3 separate regions of the Homo sapiens genome follow, and regions 2 and 3 are each linked to region 1. Evidence: promoter capture Hi-C in 16 types of primary human blood cells and fetal thymus (Javierre and others, 2016). All regions are on one chromosome and are shown on one strand. Each heading gives the region's core, a stretch centred on a gene start or on the middle of the fragment in contact. The rest is flanking DNA. Distances are from core to core; before and after follow the strand shown. Region 1 holds the start of MANEA (mannosidase endo-alpha). Region 2 holds the start of SLC35A1 (solute carrier family 35 member A1). Region 3 holds the start of ASCC3 (activating signal cointegrator 1 complex subunit 3).

Region 1 (3,203 bases), core at 356-2,855:
TTAGGAGGAGGGGTTTGCAAAATGTTTTAATACATAGAGTTGAGTGCATGGGTGTTCATTATATTATTATTTGTCCTTTCTGTGTTTAAAGTTGCTACAATTAAACTTTTAAACTTGTAGAAGAAAGAATAGTTTCTGATGTTATGTTGGGAAGAATCTTGTAAGCAAGAAAGCAAAAAGCACAAAATTAAAATGTAAAATATTATTAAATTCAAAAAGCTGTATACTGAAGCATAAAGCTTTTGGCAATCAAGAAACATCATAAAAACTGGAAAGACAGTCCATAAACTAAGAGAAGACATTTGCAACACATGTAACTTACAAGAGAGAATTAAACTAGAAAAAATAAATATTATCTACAAAATAATTTTCAAAAGCAAGCAATTTAATAAAAAATGAGATAAAATTAAGAACAGGCTTTAGCAAAAGGGAAAATGCAAATTAAAAGAGCAATCAGATGCTCTTATCAGCAAAAACTTAAAAAGTCTAACAATAGCATAAGGGTAACGATGTGCCAGTCTAGTTTATGGGAAATGGACTTGTATACAGACGAATCTCAAAACCTCTCAAAACCTAAATTAGTGAAAAAAGGGGAAAAATGAAGAATGATTCACATATGAAATATAAAACTAGGAAAATAGTATTTTTAGGGAATCGTACATATGTAACTATTTTCAGAAATACAACGGAATGAGTAATATAAAATTCAGCATAATGGTGAACGGAAGGAAGGAGATGTTTTTAGAGAGTCTTCTTTCTAGAAGACTCCAAAAATACTGGCATTTTTTTTTTCTTAAGCTCTGTAGTGGGTACCTGGGCATTTTTCATTCTTCTTTAAGATATGCACATGAGATATACTCATATGTATATTTCCCAATTAAAATTGGTGTACAAAATCTTTTTAAGGAGAGCCCTTATGAAACTGTTCACATCAGCAAGTTCTAGCTTGAATAAGGACTTCCTGTTACTATGTAACCAAACAAAAGATAGCATTTTCTTGTTTTCTGAAGCTAATGTAAGATGGAAACCTTCAGTTGTAATCCTATTTCAAAAGTTCTTGCTCTTCACATCTGACTTATCCTCAATTATTTCTAGTACTTCAGTACAGATGTGATTTTATAGAATACATTCGCAAATTAAAAACGCCATCTCCATCTGCCTACCTTGGGCTTCCAAGTAAAGTTCTATTTTTACAAAAATCAAAACAGTTCCTCAACTTTAAAAGTTTGAAAACCAGTGTACTTGTAAAGCACTTGATGCAAGCAACTTCTGAATGTTTCACATAAAAACAAACAAAAATGTGTCCTCTGTAATACAGTTAGAGCCTCCCAACAGAGCCTCAGAAGACCGTTTCTAAAGGCAGTGAGTTCTACTTGCAGAAATAGGGCGGGAGTGCAGTCTGACTCCAATCCACACGTCCTTCCCCTCTGACAGAACGCCCCAAAACGCAGTCCTCTCTTTCTTCCGCGCCGCTCCCGCCCTAGTCCTCTTAGACCCGCGACCGGAGGCTCCGGAAGACCCCGAGCCCCGCCCGCTCCGTGACCCCGCCCCCACCCGTCCCGCCCCTGAAAGCGCCCGGAACGCTGTGCGCGCGCCTTCGGGGAGGAGGGGCTGTCTGGGCTCGGGGCGCGGCGGCAGTCAGCTCTATGTTCGCGGTCTTAACCTCTCCTCTGGCCGAGTCCTTGCAAGAAGTGAATTACCCGACCCTGGTGAGTAGCTGCAGGAGTCAGACCTCTTGGAGGCGGCGGCGCCAGCAGCGGCGGCAGGCACGAGGTCCACCGCGGGCGCCTGCGCGCTCGCCCGCCAGCCAATCTGGTGGCCGCTTTCCTCCGGGCGCCCTTTGACCCGGCGCCCCTCTGGCAGGCGCTGGTGGCGCCCAGCGGCGAGCCTGTAGCCCCCTCGATTAACCTAGGCTGTCACTCTTAGGCCTGTTTTAGTCTGCGTTAGTTTTACTGCCTTTTACACTGCTTTATCCCCACCTCACTGGCCTCGTCGCCGCCTCCTCTTTGAAACGGTACCTCCTGTCGCCTCGGATTTTCCTTGTCTCCCCGACAAGGTGGAAATTTCGGGTCGGATGGAAGCCTTTTTCAGCACCTTCTCCTTGTGCCCCCAGACTGCCTCTGGGCCTTGAGCCGACCGGGAGAGTAGAAGGATCGAGGCCTGCTGGGCTCTGGGTGCAACGGAAAGGTAGCTGTCGCCTCTGGGCATCGGGAGGAGACCGCCCGATGGCGAGGCCGCTAGAGATGGTTTTTCAGTTCACCTGTTAACGTGTTTGGCACTGTCATCTTAGACTCTTAGCCTTTGCTAAGTCGGGATGCAACAGTGCTGGATTAGTGTTTTTGTTGTTCCTTTTTCCAAAGAAGCAACTTGAAGTACAGGCAGGTATAACTGTTTGGTTTTGTTGTTGTAAGACCCTACGGATAAGTGTTAGGAGAAAATGTGGAAGTGCTATAAAACAACAACAAGGGGGGGATAATGTTGATTAAGAACTTGAAAATAAGAAAAATGGGACTGGAATAGGCTGTTCACGTTAAAGTATTGAGGCAGTAGTTTGAAACAAAAATATAAAGTAAAACCTAGATATTGGTGATACTGTATCACGTTGTTTGCAAATCACTTTCATGACAATACATCTATTTCAGGTGTATCACACCTGAAAAAAACATGAGTGCTGTGAATTTGTGGATTTTCAGGCTCAATGCAGAAAAACACCCCCCAAAACAAAAAATCACAACAATGAAAACACCATTTCCAGAGCTGTTGCTGTTATTCGTGTGACGAATAGTGAATGTATGATCATAAAATAGAATAAGCTGTCTTTAGATGAAGTTTGGGCACAGTTTATGGAGTAGGTAACAGTTAATCATTGTTTATTAGGTACATAATCCTTAATTGAAAACATAACCATATAGCAGCAGCTTTCATCTTGTGTCACAAAAATAACTGGTGTATCCTCTAAATTTGATTTGTCTAATACCTTAAAGGAAGGCAGAATAGCATGGACAAGAACTTGAGTTCTTGAGCCAGACTCGATCTGCTCCTTGCTAGGTGATTAACCTTAGATTGGTTTCTTGGCCATTTGCTGGCCCAGAGATTTTTGAAAAAGTTACCAACTGCTCAGCTTCATCATTTGTAAAATGAGGTTAAAAAAAATTCTGCGGCCTGGCGCGGTGCCTCACGCCTGTAATCCCAGCACTTTGGGA
Region 2 (3,203 bases), core at 184-2,683, 8.1 Mb before region 1:
GAACTGAATAATTCTACTAGTGGAAACTGTATCAATTACAATAAGGGAAGATTAGCACCAGTGAGCACACTTACTACCAGGTAGAGGAAAAGTCCAACACTATTGCAAAATGAGATTAATCAAATGTCTGCCTCTACAAAGTCAACTCTGGTCTCCTGGGAGCCCCTCCCAATATTAATATGATGCTAATAAGGCATGCAAAATGTTCCAACAATGTTAACAGACCAGATATATCTATATGTATATTTAACAAGACAATGGTATACAACCAACCCTCTAAAAGGACAATTTTGGGGAAAGAACATGCTGCAGAAGGTGTGGGCTGCTGGGCAGCTCAGAATCTTGCATCCCTATTCCTGTAAGTGCTGAGGTATTTTCATATTATTTTAAACCAATCCACATATCTTGAACATCATTTATTTCACCAATGAATTATTTCTAATATCAATTATGATAGCTAATTAACATCCCCTAGTGAAAGTGGAGATTATAGTGGTTAAAATGCCTGTTGATATATCTAATTTTTTTTGTTTTTTGAGACGAAGTCTCGCTGTGTCGCCCAGGCTGGAGTGCAGGGGCGCAATCTCGGCTCACTGCAATCTCCCGGGTTCAAGTGATTCTCCCGCTTCGGCCTCCTGAGTAGCTGGGATTACCGGTGCGCGCCACCACGCCCGGCTAATTTTTTGTATTTTTAGTAAAGACGGGGTTTCGCCATATTGGCCAGGCTGGTCTCGAACTCCTGACCTTAGGTGATCCATCTGCCTCGACTTCCCAAAGTGCTGGGATTACAGGCGTGAGCCACCACGCCCGGCCGATACATCTGATTTTTTAAAGGCCGTTTTGTTGTGCGAAGATCATTAGTTAGAATGCCTGGCTGGGTAAATACAACCGATGACTGCTGACGATATGGAACAGGCACAAGACTTCTGAACGATATGTAGAATAAATTATAACTTATCTAGAACACAAGGTAACAGTGGAAGATAATGAGCCAGGTGGAAGTTACAAATGTTGCCGCAAGTAGTTTCTGTTACTTTACGAGTTCTGGGAGCTTCTCTAACAGCTTTGACAGGAGTGAATCCCCAAGGCTAAACCCAAATCCTTATTTGCCGCCTACTCACGCCTTTGTGAGGACTACGATTCCCAGACGGCAACGCTCCCTTCACTCAACTTCCTTAGCTGGCGGGGAGACGCAGTTTACAGAACTACCTCCCCAACCGAATTTCACACACCTGTCACCTAGGACGCGGCCGGGAAGGCCTCCCTTCGATCCGCGTTCTCCCCATTTTGGGGTGTAGCTTGGATTCCTGAGCCCAGTTTTAGTGCGTGGCCGACCGGGAGGCCGGCGAGGCGCTCTAGGCCGAGCGGCTTCGTCTCTATGACCACAAGGGGCGGTCCCCGGTGTCCTGCGCGGGGGCGCGGAGGGGGCGGGCGTCAGTTCCGCGGGGGGCTGTCGGGGAACCATGGCTGCCCCGAGAGGTGAGAACTGGGTCTGCTGGGAGTGGGGAGTCCGCGGGGGGCGGCGGCGGGCGAGCATCTGCGCTGGTCAGCCCCTGTCGGGCAGCGGAGCACCCTGGTTGCCCAGTGCCTCTGGGGCCTGGCTGAGGCGTCAGGAGTTTGCGTGGAGCCGCTCCCGGCAGTCAGGGCAGCCTGCCTTCCGCTGCGGCTGCAGTCTCCGCGGCTGACTCCGCGCTGGGCAGGTCGGAGTCAGAGACCGCACTGACCTCCACTAGCTGGGAGTGGGTGGGAACCGAATTCTGACAGGCCGGGGCTGCGGCGGACCCGGAGAGAGGCCAGGGCGTGGGTCCGGGGCTGGACCGCATTACCCAGCGAGGCAGGACAGTTCTTCACCCTGGCCCCGCGGCTCCGGTCTCCTCTGCGCCTCCTACCCTGTGGATGCTCAGAGGCTTAAAGGCAGGCTCCGGGCGCAGATCCCATGCGGCGGCTGGGCCATGCAACAACCACTAAAGACATCACTGGGGCGTCAAAACAGCACTGAAATCGTAACGAAAGGAAGATAACAGTCGTTAACAGTTCCCACCTGTATGCTGTGTGTAATTATAGAGAATGCTGTATGCTGCTATTTGGGGTGGAAGCTGAGATCCACCTCCCTCCTCCTGAGGGATGGCACATTCGGGTGAAGGCGTATTTGTTGACTAATTGACATTTAAGGAGGGCGAGTCTAATTGACTCCGCACCACTTTTTGCTGAGCAGTGTGTGTAAGTTGGGACCAGAGGTGGATTCTTTGACTGTGGTGCATTAACCAGGAGAAGTTGGGCAACACCCGGATTCTTGCTCCACCCTTCCTCCATAGAGCACTTGGCTTCACCCTTGAATAAATATTGAACGAATACATAAGGAATATCTTCTTGCGTGGGTTTCAAGTTATTTTCCCTGTTGCGGGGTCCATGTTTCTCATCAGGCCCTGCCCAGGGGCATTGTCTTTAGTTGCATATGCTTCTCTTATGTCTTCTTTCTGTTTCATTTCAAATAAGTCCAATCTTAAAAGCCTTTTTTTGTAGCAACACAGGAAATAAAAGAAAAAGAAATAGAATTGTTTTGATAACTAAAATGGAATGGGGATAGCAAAATTGATCCGAACGAAAACTTATAAATTACAGAAGTCAAATCATTACTTGAAATAGCTGCAACAATGTAAAGGTTTAGGCTTATTGCCAATACATATTTGTTGAGCCTTGATTGTAATCCTAACAAAACTACAGTTTCCATAGTTTCCGAATATCCACAAAGGATTTATCTGGGACTTACAGAATTTCTAAGTTCTTAAGTATTACAAATAATGTCCCCATAAACTATAGTAAAACATAACCGAAAAAAAACATTTTAAACTGTAAGTTTCTTTTGGGGGACATTTCCACACAAACACTATATGGGAGCTAATAGAATTTCGTGAGAAGCAGGGAACAATGCAGGGTTAAGATGTGGCTGCCAGTTGAGTTGTGGGCTAGCTTTATAGTTACTGGCATTGGGTGTGATTTGAATTATTTGCCCAATTTGAAGTGATTACATATGGACTTTTGCTGTTACCCTGAAATAATTGAAATTGCTAATAACTGAAGTTTTATACTGGAGAATTTGTGAATGGAGTGAACAAGAAATAGTTTGGTCTGATGTTAAACTGCCAGAGAAAATCGTACTTAAAAACATTTAGTATTTAAAAGTTGAAATACGTTTAAAAACT
Region 3 (3,203 bases), core at 496-2,995, 5.3 Mb after region 1:
CCAGAGATACACAGGAGATCAATCAGACCAAAGTGAAGACTGGAAAGAAACTGATTTCTACCTCAAAAGAAAAAGCTTTTTATTTATTTATTTTTTTTGAGGTAGAAACTGAGGTAGAACTGTGAACTTTATATTTAAACAAGCTTTGAAAAAGAAAAACTTACTCTTCTGAAATGGCAAACCACTGGTACATATACTACTTTTTGATCAAAGGCAATATCAAATCATGCTGTTAAAGCAAGATCATCTGTTCCCCTTTCAATGCCAATTACATATATACATTGACAATAACTTTTTCTTTTAAAAGCTTTGTTTTGGTTAACTACAGATCCATGGCATGAGAAAGAACCCTAGTCAAGATTCTGTCTTAAAAGGAGGCTGCTGGATTATAGAAAGTTCATGAGCACAGAGACTGTCTCTCTCTTGCTCTCCTAGGCCTAGCCCAGCGTTTGACACATAGGAAGACTTGAATGAATGAATGACAAAAAACTGTTAAGCAGGGATCAAGAAAGCTGAACCATGAAAAATTAATTTCTCATATAAATAGGATTATTTAGCCTAAGCTTAAGAGCATCTTTAAGGATCATTTTTCTCATGCAAGACTATTATAACCATCATTAAAAAAAAGAGACAACATAAACTGGAGCACAATCCATAGTAAAACCAAAAGCTTAATTCTCAACATTTGAGAACTTTGAGAATCAGAAAAAGGATTTCAATCTATGAAACATAAAATCTGGTGATGGAGAAAATGGCTGTCAATCTCACCTAACCTAGGGAAAGAAAGAAAATGTAACCATGAGTTTGAATGCACAAGTGACAACACATCAAACTTTTACCAGCCCCTAGAATTATGCTTCTTTTAAACCAAAGAATAGCAAATACCATTAGCACACTGCATTCCATGAGTAAGTTAATTTATAAGAAACCTATTTGAAATGACTGCCCAGTACTCACAAAACCTCCCTAGCACCCACATACACATTTATTTATTTCAAAATGACATTATAGGCTCCTTGATTGCGAAATTCACCCACAATCCATCACGGTCAGCTACCTATTTACTTTCCAGTGTGTTGGGGGAAAAATATGAGGAAGATTTCTTTCCCCAAATCTACGTGAAGAAAACGAAGTTATCAAGGCTTTGTAACAGAAAAAAAGAAAACAAATTACCCATGCATGGGACAGAAAAACCTCATCTGGTCACGTTGTGGCTTAACACTTGGACAATATGTAGCTTAGGTTAAGTTTTCTATCCCCAACCCCACCTACAAACTCTAGGAATGGGCGGTATTGTTGCGAGACCCCGGACTCGACCTCATGCCACTGAAAAGGATGACAGGTCGGGACTTGCCCCGGAGGCAGGAAGAGAATCTCTGGCGGGTCGCGTAGCCCGCCTCGCCGTCCCCGCCTCCAGCCAGCTCCCCTGGCCGCGGCGACCCTTCTCGTCCTCCCACCTCCACCTCCACCTCCTCACCTCTCGGCCTGGCTCACGCGTTTCCCATCACTCTGTCAGCTCCTGCCACCGCGCCTTCTTCCCTTTCGGTTTTACTTTAACTTCCCACGCCGGGTGAGGAGCTGAGCGCAGGGCCAAAGATGCGAGCGGGCAGCTGTATCGCCGCGCCCCGTCCGCCCTCCAAGCCGCGCTTGCCGGGGTCGCGCCCAGTCACAGGGAACCGCGTGTGAGGACCATCAGTCAGACAGACAGACGCAAAGACGCACAGACCCGGCGAGGAGGGACAGAGTGGAGCTGGCGCCGGCCTACACGTCACCGCCCCGCTGCAGCGCCAACGTCGGCACGTCGACTCGTCGACTCCGGGCCCTCTGCCCCGCCCGCGTGCGCGCGCCGCTCCGCCTCCCGCCTCCAGCCTCTAGTCCGCTGGGTTCGGAGGAGCAGAGGCGGAAGGTCCCGGCGGCGGCGAGGATGCGCCCCAGGGCGGGAGCGGGACGCTCCACTTTACCCTGGCTGCCCGCAACGGGCCAGGCCTGCCGTCTCTACCTCTCTACCTGTGAGTTTTTTCCCTGCATTTACTTCAGTCTGCCGCGTCTTCTCCCCGCCCTTCTCTGTAAGGTAAATATGTGGAGGAAATAATTCCTATTAAAGGTAAAGGAAAGGAGAGCAATTTGAATGAAGAAACAGGTAGTTGCTATCGTCGTTTTCAGCCAAAGCCCTCTGGCTGCTAGAGAGTATACATGGTTCTCTGGTGTCAAGGCCTGTTTTCCATAAGCTTTCTGGATTCTCAGCTTAGTTCCCTCAAAGTGATCTCTGCAAGTCGGCTCTTCGGTCAGAAGACCTCCTCCAAAAACAGAAAGCCCAAAGATTCCCTAACTCGATTGAAAAGATAGGAAGATACGAAGAAAAACTAACCTAAAGAATTGTGTGGTTTATCTGCAAAGAGTTCTAGACTAAAAGCCAACAATGCAAAGATAGTATGAGTTAATATGTTTGTTGTGGCTCTCTTCTGCCATTCCCGCTTCCTCAAGGTAATGTGCCCCGATGCCTGGTAGAACTGTTTTGTAGAGGCAGCCAATAGTGATCCAGTTATTGTCTTTACTGGTCAGACCACCTCTGAAGTGCTGTGTTCAGCATTTGAAGACTTTAATCAAGCTGGCATTATATCAGGGAAGAGCAAAATGATGACGAGAACTCAAAAACAGGGCAAGTGAAGAAGGATTGATTAAACCTTCCAGGACTCACCTAGAAGAGAGAAAACTACTGGACTCTCTCCAAATATGAAATGACCTATCATGTGAAGTTGATTTGTTTCATGTGATGCAAACTTCAGGGAACAGATTTAAGATCCTGAAAAGAAGATGCCCTTGTAGCACGACCCAAAGAATTGCCTACCTTAGCATGTGTGAATACCTCAACCACAGAATTTTGCTTCAAGGAGATTCTGAAGCTCACTTAATAGGGACTTGGTACAGGGGAGCCACACATCAACAGAATAATTAGTTGATGGTTTTGTTAAAGATATTTCCAGTCTTGAGATTACATGTGTCTTTGGTCCTGGACTTCATAGAGTTTACAAGTTAGTTCATGAGACAAGACAAATGCATCACAAAAATAAATAATGCAAGGAGGCCAAGTGATAATGAGAGGTGCTGATAAGTGCTAGGAATTCACATGACAGATTATTCCCATCACAGTTCCAGAGGCTTAAGGGAGAAGAGAGGAACTGAAAATAGACTACCTAGAACTG

Evidence for each region. Contacts are between HindIII fragments. The CHiCAGO score rates a contact against its expected background, and 5 or more counts as called.
Region 2: a contact is called between the fragment with the promoter of SLC35A1 here and the fragment with the promoter of MANEA in region 1, in 1 of 17 cell types (activated CD4 T cells). The highest score is 5.4, in activated CD4 T cells.
Region 3: a contact is called between the fragment with the promoter of ASCC3 here and the fragment with the promoter of MANEA in region 1, in 7 of 17 cell types (non-activated CD4 T cells, total B cells, total CD4 T cells and 4 more). The highest score is 16.1, in non-activated CD4 T cells.

What each region holds. Positions count from the first base shown.
Region 1 is chr6:95,575,930-95,579,132 of GRCh38, forward strand. It overlaps MANEA (mannosidase endo-alpha), which reads left to right and starts at 1,606. Exons shown (of 5, transcript NM_024641.4): 1 at 1,606-1,709. It overlaps MANEA-DT (MANEA divergent transcript), which reads right to left and starts at 1,522. Exons shown (of 3, transcript NR_104136.1): 1 at 1,164-1,522. RefSeq lists silencers at 1,346-1,425, 1,476-1,565, 1,846-1,905 and enhancers at 1,702-2,642, 2,106-2,205. The HindIII fragment of the contact is 3,606 bases long and covers 238-3,203 here.
Region 2 is chr6:87,471,541-87,474,743 of GRCh38, forward strand. SLC35A1 (solute carrier family 35 member A1) reads left to right here and starts at 1,434. Exons shown (of 8, transcript NM_006416.5): 1 at 1,434-1,479. The coding sequence starts at 1,464. LOC124901357 (a long non-coding RNA gene) reads right to left here and starts at 1,405. Exons shown (of 2, transcript XR_007059668.1): 1 at 1,233-1,405; 2 at 1-958. RefSeq lists enhancers at 1,081-1,987, 1,983-2,152, 2,203-2,302 and a silencer at 1,393-1,532. The HindIII fragment of the contact is 12,962 bases long and covers 1-3,203 here.
Region 3 is chr6:100,879,584-100,882,786 of GRCh38, forward strand. ASCC3 (activating signal cointegrator 1 complex subunit 3) reads right to left here and starts at 1,746. Exons shown (of 42, transcript NM_006828.4): 1 at 1,478-1,746. It overlaps LOC107984041 (a long non-coding RNA gene), which reads left to right and starts at 1,874. Exons shown (of 8, transcript XR_007059692.1): 1 at 1,874-2,071. RefSeq lists an enhancer at 1,590-1,709. The HindIII fragment of the contact is 1,558 bases long and covers 669-2,226 here.